2 separate regions of the Homo sapiens genome follow, and region 2 is linked to region 1. The links are contacts of gene promoters, found by promoter capture Hi-C in blood cells and fetal thymus (Javierre and others, 2016). All regions are on one chromosome and are shown on one strand. The core of a region is centred on a gene start or on the middle of the fragment in contact, and the rest is flanking DNA. Distances in the headings are between cores, read along the strand shown.

What was found. The method cuts DNA at HindIII sites, captures the fragments that hold promoters and counts their contacts. A CHiCAGO score of 5 or more calls a contact.
Region 2: a contact is called between a fragment that was not itself captured here and the fragment with the promoter of LNX2 in region 1, in 1 of 17 cell types (activated CD4 T cells). The highest score is 9.4, in activated CD4 T cells.

What each region holds. Positions count from the first base shown.
Region 1 is chr13:27,616,707-27,621,778 of GRCh38, reverse strand. It overlaps LNX2 (ligand of numb-protein X 2), which reads left to right and starts at 1,250. Exons shown (of 10, transcript NM_153371.4): 1 at 1,250-1,404. It also overlaps a transcript of POLR1D not described here. RefSeq lists silencers at 1-190, 811-1,700 and an enhancer at 494-1,222. The HindIII fragment of the contact is 4,924 bases long and covers 1-2,521 here.
Region 2 is chr13:26,183,818-26,189,213 of GRCh38, reverse strand. It overlaps a transcript of RNF6 not described here. Among named protein-coding and RNA genes, the nearest start is that of RNF6, 36 kb to the left of the region's middle. RefSeq lists enhancers at 2,800-2,849, 2,900-3,069. The HindIII fragment of the contact is 1,438 bases long and covers 1,637-3,074 here.

The DNA.
Region 1 (5,072 bases), core at 1-2,500:
GCGGGGTGAGCGGTGGCTCGCGGCCCCGCGGCTCACCTGGGCGACCACGCGAGGCCACTCGCGGCGGGAGGGGCAGGGGGCGGGGCCAGCGCCGCCTTACCCCGAGGCCCAGACAGGCCTGCGGGCGCCCCGGCTCAACTCTGGTACCTTTCCCCAGGTGATGGCGAAGGGGCGCGGCCTTACCTGCCGCCCCCAAATCACTTCCCTTCCCAGTGGCAAGTCCGAAAGCGGCCCGACTTCCCAACTGGGGCGGTGTTGACCCAGGATGGCCCTTCCTGGGACCCCGGCCCTCCCGGGCCTTTTGTGGGACGACAGGCTTAAACTGTAGTCGGTCAACACACCTTGAAGAGGGAGGGGGGTCACGTGCGAGATGAGTCACCACAGAATACGAAGGTTGAAGGCGGTATTTGTTTCACCGGGGAGCTTGCAGTTGCATTTTCAACTGGGTCAAAATAGGGCAAGAAAGAAATGTCTCTTTTGGGGGAGTGAGAGTTTGGGAGAAAACTGTTTCCCACCTTATCCTTTCCGTCCTAGGATTCCTTCTACCCCCAGAGCGCGTCCTCTCCGGCTGTAGACTTCCTTTTCCCTTTCTCCCCAGTGGCTCCTCAAACCTCCTCACCTGCGGAACCCGCCCTCACCTTTGTTCCCAGGCGCCCAGCCCCCGCCTCGGCAACCTTTCGCCGCCCAGGCTCGCTCTCCATCCAGCTCCCTGCGTCCCGGCCTTCGCTGTGCTCCCTCAGGTGCGCTTCCTCTCGAATCGGCCCTTCTTGTCCCCTCGCCGCTGGCCCCGACCCTGCCCGACTCCAGCTGTCCAGCGCAACTACGTTTCTGCTTCCCTGCGCCACCTGTTCTCCTGGCCTCCCCCCACCCCGCCCCGCGATTCCTCTGGATGTTCACTCCTTCCCCAGCTGTGCCACTCTTGGCGGCGGCCGGGGGTGCGCGCAGACACCTAGCCAGCGGGGCTTCCGCAGGGGAATCAGGCGGGCGGCGGGGACAGCCCGGGGCGAGTGGGGGAGGCGGGCGGCGAGGGCGGAGTGGTCTCACTCTAACCCGGGAGTGACGGGTCCCTTCTGGCCCGCCTCCCGAGCTCTCGGATAGGTGGAGCCGCCCTCTGGTCCGCCCACCTCCCGCCCTGTGCTACCTCCGATTGGCCCGGGTGCGGGTTGGGCCGCTCGGCCTTGGCGCTGCCCCCGGGAAGGCAGCAGGGGCGGTTGAGAAGTGAAGTCTTGGCCGGAGTTTGCTTTTTGCCAGGAAATCCGCGGCGGCGGCGGCGGCGGCGGCGATTCCTGGCGGAGCGGAGCCGGGCAGGCTCTCCGCTCCCTCAGCGGGCCGCGGAGAGCGGGAGCTGGTGCCGAGCAGCGGCGCCAGGAGCCCGTGCGCGGCCCGGGCAGCCGCGCTTTCCCAGTGAGTAACTTTGCCCTGCCCGCCTCGCTGCGCGCCCTCTCGCTGGCTGCGGGCAGCCGCCTCAGGTGCGGGCGTCAGCTGGGTGTGGGTCAGCGCCGCGCCCCGGGAGGCGGCCGGAGCGGCGCCACAGCTCGCCCCGGAGCCTTGGTCCTTCGCGGCTGTCTTCGCTCGCCCGGGCTGCGGGGCTGGCGTGGACTCGGGTGTGGGTCTGGTCCAGGAGGGAGAGTCGGCGCCCGGTGCCCGCCGCCTGCAGGCGCCCGGGAGGCGGGCGGCCTCCGGCTGTTAGCGTTTGCTGGTTCCGGCCACCGTGGTGCAGAGCTTGGCGTCGTTTGCTTCTTAAGGGAAGGGAGAGGTGGGGTGAGTGTTTAAATTTCCTCTGTGTGTGTGTGGTGTCGGCAATGAGAGTGGCACTAGCTGCCTTTATCGGGTTTTGTTCTCTGGAAAGGGATGGGGAGAGATCATTCCCTCCGCCCCAGCCTGTTGCCTGTGAATTCTCACCTTTCTCTTTAGGCTGGAGAGGGTGGGAGAGAGATTTGACATCTTCCAGGGGGTAATTTAAAAATATGAATCTTGATTTGGAAGCAGTTGCACACAAAGCATCATTCAGGAAATACATCACTCGCTTTTCAAAGCTGTATGCCACGTTTTAAACAAGGACTTTTGACTCATGTAGTGTTTCTTTTAGTATTTCAGTTTACGTTAAGTTTATGAATCCAGACGTTCGTTTGTACCAGGAGCTAAAGTACACTTATGCATGGGCTTTGCTGTGTATATTATGCTTTTTAAAATCACAGAAATCAGAAACAAAGTTGAGTGAAAAGCGGTGGCGGTGCAGGAGGAGGAACACTTGTGAGCTCCAGCTTATTGGAACTGCCTTTAAGAATTTCACATTCTTGCGGCAATAGTACTTACTTGTAAATTGGCCTTCTTCCCAGGACAGGTTTTGATATTTCTTTTGCATGTACTTCGATGCAGCACTAATGAAGTTGGATCTCAGTAGATCAATTTTATTTACTTTGCTAGATTTGATTCCCACCCCCACACCTCTTTAGAAAATGGACTTTGGCAGGTAAAGAAGGAAGCGGGAATCTGGTATCCTTTTTGGCTTGTCAAAGCTTTGTTGAGCCATGAATAACAAAGTTTTGGCTTTTTAGCTTGTCCGAGTCCCACATGTGAGTTTTCCCATGGGGTAAAAGTAGGCCAAATGAGAACCAAAGTAGAATAACATCACTTTTAATTCGGCCCACTTGTGTGTTACATTCTCCATATATCTTGTTTCTCTCATCAACTTTGAAATTTTTTCATTATTTATTCATTTAGCCACTGATAAAGTACCTACTGCATGCCAGCCATTGATGGCGGGGGTTGCTTCTTGCCCAGTTTTCTCATTTGGAAACTGATCCATGCCTTTATCCCACTAGTTACCCTGAAGTAATTTGAACTTAGGGAGCATTTCTGCCTGGAGACCTGTAAGAATAGGTGTTACGTAGGCACTTAGTCTTCAGATTGGTTTGGGATTTCGTACATTGTAGGCACGTAGCACGCAGGCCACTTAAAAATAAATGTATGTGTCTTTGGGCTGTTGTATTACGAGCTTTGCATATGGGCTTGTCTGGCCGAAGGACCCAGTGTCCGAGGTGGAGGTAGTAGTCAGGGACATGTATTATTCATTTCAGAACACTTGGCACCTTTTCTTGCTTACATTGGGCACTAAAATATTTACTGAATTGACTTGAACAGAAAAATGAAGGATTTTTTATACCAGATTAAGAAATTTGGACTTTATCCAGTCAGTGATACTGAGCTGCTAATTTTAAGCAGGAGAATGTCATGATAACGGGTAAGCATTCCAGAAAGATATCTGCAGCGTCTGGAGGATGGTGGGCTTCCAGATGGGCGATATGGAGACTAAGTTGGAGGCTGTTCTAATGGAGGGGTTAAGTGCTCAGGGATTCTCTATTCAGATTACCTGGGGTGGAATCAGGCTCTGTCATACACTGAAACCTCTTTGTTCCTTAGGTTTGTCATCTCAGAGTTTGGGGGATAGAACTTGAAAAAACATGTCTATTACTTAGAATAGTGATTGCCAGATAGTAAGGACTTAGTAAATGCTAGTGTGCTGGCAGTGGAAGGAGAAATGACGTGGTGTTTAAGAGGTATGACTAGGAGGCTGGACTAGGTAAGTGACTGGGTAGGCTTAAGGAGGGAAGGATGAATCCTGGGTTGTTTGACTTCAGGCATTGATTGACATGTACTGGGTAAGCTGGCTGTGAAATTAAAACGGGTCAAATTCTAATTCTATTACTTACCCTTAGAATAACTATCCTGACAGAACTTTGATTTCCTAACATTTGGGAAATGATTGTCGTACCTGTTGAGTAGGGTTTGAGGAATTATGCATGTAATGCCTTTGGCAGGGTACCTAGCACATTCCAAGTGCTCAGTAAATATTAGTTGTTCCTTTAGATGATGACATTAATGAGCTAGTGGAATGTTGGAGGATATGAGAAGGAGCAGTTAAAAACAATTGATGGTAGAGGTGTAGAAGGGAAGATAAGTTCAGTTTTGGACTAATCTAAGGAGGTGCTAAATGGATGGTTGAGAGATCCATGATGCAGTTGTTGGATAGTTGTGTCTCACAGGAGCTAGGAAAGAATAGAAAAGAAAAAGAGTTCACAGAAAGGCTTTATGAGTATGGTAAGCTTTATGAGAGATTTAGAGGAAGGGGAGGGTGAAGGGGTTCACAGTGGAGCGATATCAGAAGTGTTGACATTGAATATTAGGCATTTCTATCCTTAAAATATATTTTGGCCACCATCAAAGAAAGGAGGACTCCAGGCTCTTGTAATCTGGTTGGCTCTTTGGCCTTCTTCCCCTCTTCTTTCTTTCCTTTACAATTGCCACCCGATATCTTTAAATTGTATTATGAGGAACTATTTAACTTTCCTTCCTGCTTACAGGGCTAGAGTTCACAGGCCCACCTTCCTCTATCCAAATGCATCTAGGTTTTTAAAAAAGAATCACAGGTCTCATTTCATAGGTTCTCCTCTATTTAGGAAGCAGTGTTGTTTGAAAAAGTAATACATATGTATCTTGCATGTAGAATTAGAAGACTGGGGCAGGCCTACCTAAATTGACCCTGTAGGAGGGCCTGAGAGTCTTACAAAAGACATCCCTTTTAGCTTTCCTGGCACCTGTTTCTTTTCCTCAGAAAATACAAAGCAGTAGGAAAATCTGTGGTTAATAAGTTATTTTGTTTGGTTGGATTCAGAAAAGGTGGCTATTTTGTGTATTAGCCTTCTAAGAAGTTATTAAGAGGAATTTTTTGGCCAGGTGCAGTGACTCACGCTTATAATTCTAGCACTTTGGGAGGCTGAGGCGGGCGATCACGAGGTCAGGAGTTCAAGACCAGCCTGGCCAACACAGTGAAACCCTGTCTCTACTAAAAATACGAAAATTAGCTGGGCGTGGTGGCAGGTGCCTGTAATCCCAGCTACTCAGGAGGCTGAGGCAGGAGAAATCGCTTGAACCCGGGAGCTAGAGGTTTCAGTGAGCTGAGATTGCGCCACTGCGCTCCAGCCTGGGTGATAGAGCTAGACTCCATCTCAAAAAAGGAATTTTTTAACAAGCAAGTGCTCATGACATTACAATAATAAATTGTCCTCTAG
Region 2 (5,396 bases), core at 1,106-3,605, 1.4 Mb after region 1:
TGGGACTACAGGTGCCCGCCACCACACCCAGCTAATTTTTGTATTTTAGTAGAGACATAGTTTCACCATGTTGGCCAGGCTGGTCTCAAACTCCTGACCTCAGGTGATCCACCTGCCTCGGCCTCCCAAAGTGCTGGGATTACGGGCGTTAGCCACCATCCCTGGCTACTAGGAATATTTTGATTCTATCTTACATTTAAGAAAGCTCCCTCTTACTTCATGGGAGTGTAAGCCTTTGAGTCTACAATAATCAGTTTGCATACAACCTCTTCAGAAATCTGTTCTGAGCCGGGCGCAGTGGCTCATGCTTGTAATCCCATCACTTTGGGAGGCCAAGGTGGGCAGATCACGAGGTCAAGAGATTGAGACCATCCTGGCCAACATGTTGAAACCTCATCTCTACTAAAAATACAAAAATTAACCGGGCATGGTGGCATGTGCCTGTAGTCCCAGCTACTTGGGAGGCTGAGGCAGGATAAGTGCTTGAACTGAAGAGGCAGAGGTTGCAGTGAGCCGAGATCATGCCACTCCAGCCTGGCAACAGAGTGAGACTTCATCTCAAAAAAAAAAAAAAAAAAAAAAAAAAAAAAGCTCTTTTGACTTGTCCAACTAAAGCCCCCACTAAAAGGGAGAGAACAGCTGCAGCTTTCACCTAAACTCCCCTCAGTCTTCACTTCTGTGTGTCACCTGCTTCTGGCTTATGCAGTGACTGGAATTTTTGGTTATATTTGTTTTGGAAAGTAAAATGTAAATTCAGCCAGACTCTTGATAATTCCAGTAGTTATTCAACAGTGATCAGTGCGTTTTGACTACAGATTCACTGGTCTCAAGAGTCAGTTGCCCTTCCTCTGTGCCACAATTAAGTCCTTGTCTATGTCTGTCACAAGTGGGGTGGAGGATGGGGTAGAAGGGGAGGGATATTGTTATAATTGCCTCCCTTGCCACCATCAGCACTTCTCACCTGTCCTTGTGAACCACCAGTTTACACTTATAGAATCTAGTTTTGCATCAGCAATTGAGGTCACTTCGCCTTGGAGCCACTGCATCAATCTGAAAGTCTCCATGAGCCACAAGACAGTTGTGATGGTCTGGATGGCAGCCTGCAAATGAGCAGTTACACTCTCTAGAATTCCTAGACTATTAGGGCTGAAGGGACCTTGGATATTAACAGGTTCAAGTCCATTTCACCCAGATGATGAAACTGATGCCCAGACACCTACAGAATCTTGTTTTAGATCACTTGTTGACTTCTAGTTCTATTTTTTGACACCTAGTGTCCAGTGTGCTTTACACTTCAGGCCACTGTGGTCTCAAATAGAGCTAGGAACCAGGTGTGGTGGCACACGCCTGTAGTCCCAGCTAGTTGGGAGGCTGAGGCAGGAGGACTGCTTAAGCCCAACAGTTCAAGGCTGCAGTGAGCTAAGATTGCACCACTGCACTCCATCCTGGGCAACAGATAGAGACTGTCTTAAAAAACCCCCAAAATCAAATAGAGCTGGGGCTAAACATTTAATAAACTCCAGCCTCTGGAGTCCAAGAGATCTGCATTTGAATCCTGACTTTGCCACTGATTGGCAATAAGACCTTGGGTACGTTACTTAACCATTAACATACCCACTAAGTCACCCAATAAGCTTCCAGAACTTGGCCTAATCCCTGGGGAGGGGACCGCAGGAAGAACTAGGGTAATTTTTCTTTTATAACCAGTTCACCAGAGGGGGCCAGGGAAGGGTGGTCGTATGTAGCCCAGAGGAGTCAGAAATTCACCTGAAATCCAGAAAAGAGGCATTTTTCTTGCACACCAGAGCTCACGGGCTGACATTCTCACACTGGACATCCCAGTAAGCCTCCTGCTCCGCGATCCCCAAGGCCATCAGCCTTGCCTGACCTCCAAACGTTTCCCCCTTCTTGTGCCGGCTTAATTTTCCAGGGCTTTCCCCCTTTCTATTCGTCTCCTATCAGGTTCCCGGTCCGAAGGCTAGGACGCCCCACGTCGCAGCCAGGAGCAGAGGCGCCCAAGGTGGCGGTACAAGCCGTCTTCAGGCCTGTGGCCCCACTGATGGCAGAAACAGGAAGCGGGGACAGCCCCAGTCCCGGACCTCAGGCCAAGCAAGGCTCTAGAAAGGTCCCTGACGCTTGCCGGGCGCGGTGGCTCATGCCTGTAATCTCAGCACTTTGGGAGGCCGAGGTGGGTGGATCACGAAGTCAGGAGATCGAGACCATCCTGGCTAACACGGTGAAACCCCGTCTCTACTAAAAATACACAAAATTAGCCGGGCGTGGTGGCGGGCGCCTGTAGTCCCAGCTACTCGGGAGGCTGAGGCAGGAGAATGGCGTGAACCTGGGAGGCGGAAATTGCAGTGAGCCGAGATCGCGCCACTACACTCCAGCCTGGGCGACAGAACGAGACTCCGTCTCAAAAAAAGAAAAAAAAAAAAAGAAGAAGAAAGGTCCCTGACGCTTCCCTGCCCTCCCCGGAGCCGGCGCTCTAGCGCCCCCGGGATCGACGGTCAGCACAGCGAAGGAACGCGCTACCTGTGGCCGAAGGTATAGCGCCGCTGCGGGCCCTGTGAGAGCTGAGAAGACGACGGCGGCCGAGGAGGCCCAATTCCGAGGCTCGGCCCCGTCAGGGTCCGCGCTGGCGGTGTGCGCGTGTACGTGCGCTCGTGCACGTGCATGTGTGTGCGCGCGCCCTAACAGACCTGCTCCGAAGCGTCTCCGCTGACTGCCAGTCGGTAGCGCGACTGGCTGCGGGGCCCACGTGCCACGCAGACGCCCCCCGGCGCGTCCCGCTCTTGCTCTGCGGCCCAACGAGCGCGTTCCTGCCGCGGGACAGCCTTGCAGAGAAACGCGGTCTTACACACGCACTGGCCTCCCGGTCTGGGTTTTTAACTGCTCAAAGCTCCACGCGCCCTGGCGTCTCCACACGGCACTCCAGATGTGTCAGATTTCCAGAAATGTTTTGATCGCTTGCTTTCACTTCTCTTTTTAAGATCTGTTTTTGAACTTTTCCTCTGCGTTGTGTGTATCATGACTCTGACACGTTTTAGGGCCGCGAGGCGGGTGATGAAGCTTTGACATGGGCGCCTTGGTGAATGACCTGAATTCTTACTCCCGAGTAAATCGTCTGACTGGCTTCCCTATCGCATTTTAGGGTTAAAACATACATTTTGTGTTTGTTTCATATCTATGTTTATGTAGACTGCAAGTTTCATAAGGGCACGGGGTGGGAGGGGCTATGGCTCTTTTGCCTCTTACTGTATTTTCAGAACCTAGCAGAAGCTAGGACATAGTGTGTGTTCTCTAAATAGATATTGAATGTGAGGGAGGAAGGAACTTTCCAGAAGTGTGACCTTTGGTTTTGGAAAGGCACAAGGTTCGTAGTTAGGCGTAGAGAACACAAGTTTAGAATCATGGCCTCTACACTTCTGTTGACAATGCATTACTTTAAGTAACAACTTTTTTTTGAGACAGGGTTTCGCTCGTTTTGCCCAGGCTGGAGTGCAGTGGCACGATCTCGGCTCACTGCAACCTCCGCCTCCCGGGTTCAAGCGATTCTCCTGCCTCAGCCTCCCAAGTAGCTGTGATAACAGGCGCCTGCCACCACGCCAGGCTAATTTTTTGTATTTTTAGTAGAGACGGGGTTTCACCATGTTGGCCAGGATAGTCTCGATCTCTTGACCTCGTGATCCGCCCACCTCGGCCTCCCAAAGTGCTGGGATTACAGGCGTGAGCCACTGTGCCCAGCCAAGTAACAACTTTTTTTAAAAAAAATGCACTTCAAATGTATATGTATATGTATTTATTTATAAGTTATAAAAATGTAATGCATGCTCATATATATATTTATGTATTATTACAAAGAGCACACCAAATAGAAATTTTAAAAAGCTAAAATAAAAATAATACCTTGGTCGGGGATGATGGCTCATGCCTGTAACTCCAGCACTTTTGGAGGCCGAGGCGGTCAGATAGCTTGAGCCCATTAGTTCGAGACCAGCGTGGGCAGCATAGTGAGATCCCATCTGTACAAAAAATAATTTGAAAAAATTAGCCGGGCATGGTGGTGTGCGCCTGTTGTCCCAGCTGCTTGGGAGGCTGAGGTGGGAGAATGGCTTGATCCTGGGAAGTTGAGGCTGCAATGAACCGTGTTTGTGCCACTTCACTACAGCTTGGGGTGGCTGAGTGAAATCCTGTCTTAATAGTCAATCAATCAATCAATCAATAAAATGATAACAATACCTACAAGTTCTAAAATAATTTCCTGCAGCGCACTTTGGAGCTCACTAGGTAGACAGTTTGTAGGGAGAGGGCTGCCCTCTACTGGTGGAGGGCAGCTAAGGACATTTGCTTTGGATCGCCTGCCTTCTGCAGGAGTCCACAGATTTATCCTTTGTGGCCTGCACAGTGTGTATGCTTAGCATTCAATCTACGTTATTTTCACTCATAGAAAATGTAAGGTGAGGCATTGTTTTAAGCCAGAACAGCTTTAAAAGGCAGAGATACTCGTATTGTGCAGTCATTATGGACCAGGAAACGTTGAAACATCTGCGAGTAGAAGTGACTCAAAACTGAATGTTCGTCTCTGTAACATCATGGCCAATACTCAATAAAGGGGAAACAATTAGATAATCTGTTCTCATATGTCAAGTCTTACAAATCTTTTTACTTTGAAGACAACTAAATTATACTGTTGTAGTTTTGATAGCAGAATATGCCCTGCTGATTTTTAAGCCTTAGAGACTTCTAGAGCAAAAAGCATAAAACAGATTTTTATACAACAACATGTCTTTTTCACTTGAGAGTTCAGTGTTCGAAGACTTTTAAAGTGCCTTTATGCAGAGGCTAAACTGAGGGAGACTGATTAGAATATAATTTGAGGCGGCCGGGCGCGGTGGCTCACGCCCGTAATCCCAGCACTTTGGGAGGCCGAGACGGGCGAATCACGAGGTCAGGAGATCGAGACCATCCTGGCTAACAGGGTGGAACCCCGTCTCTGCTAAAAATACAAAACATTAGCCTGGCGTGGTGGGTGGCGGGCACCTGTAGCCCCAGCTACTCGGGAGGCTGAGGCAGGAGAATGGCGTGAACCTAAGGAGACGGAGCTTGCAGTGAGCCGAGATCGTGTCACTGCACTCCAGCCTGAGCAACAGAGCGAGACTCTGTCTCAAAAAAAAAAAAAAAAAAAAAAAAAATATATATATATATATATATATATATATTTTATTTATCTGCTGGTGGAGGGCAGCTCCACCAGTATGTATATATATGAATAATTATAAAAAAATAAATATTGTATATATTACATATATAAATAAGTATAAAAAAACCTATATTTTATATATATAAAAATATATAAATAATTCGAGGAATATATTGTAGATTTTTTATGAATT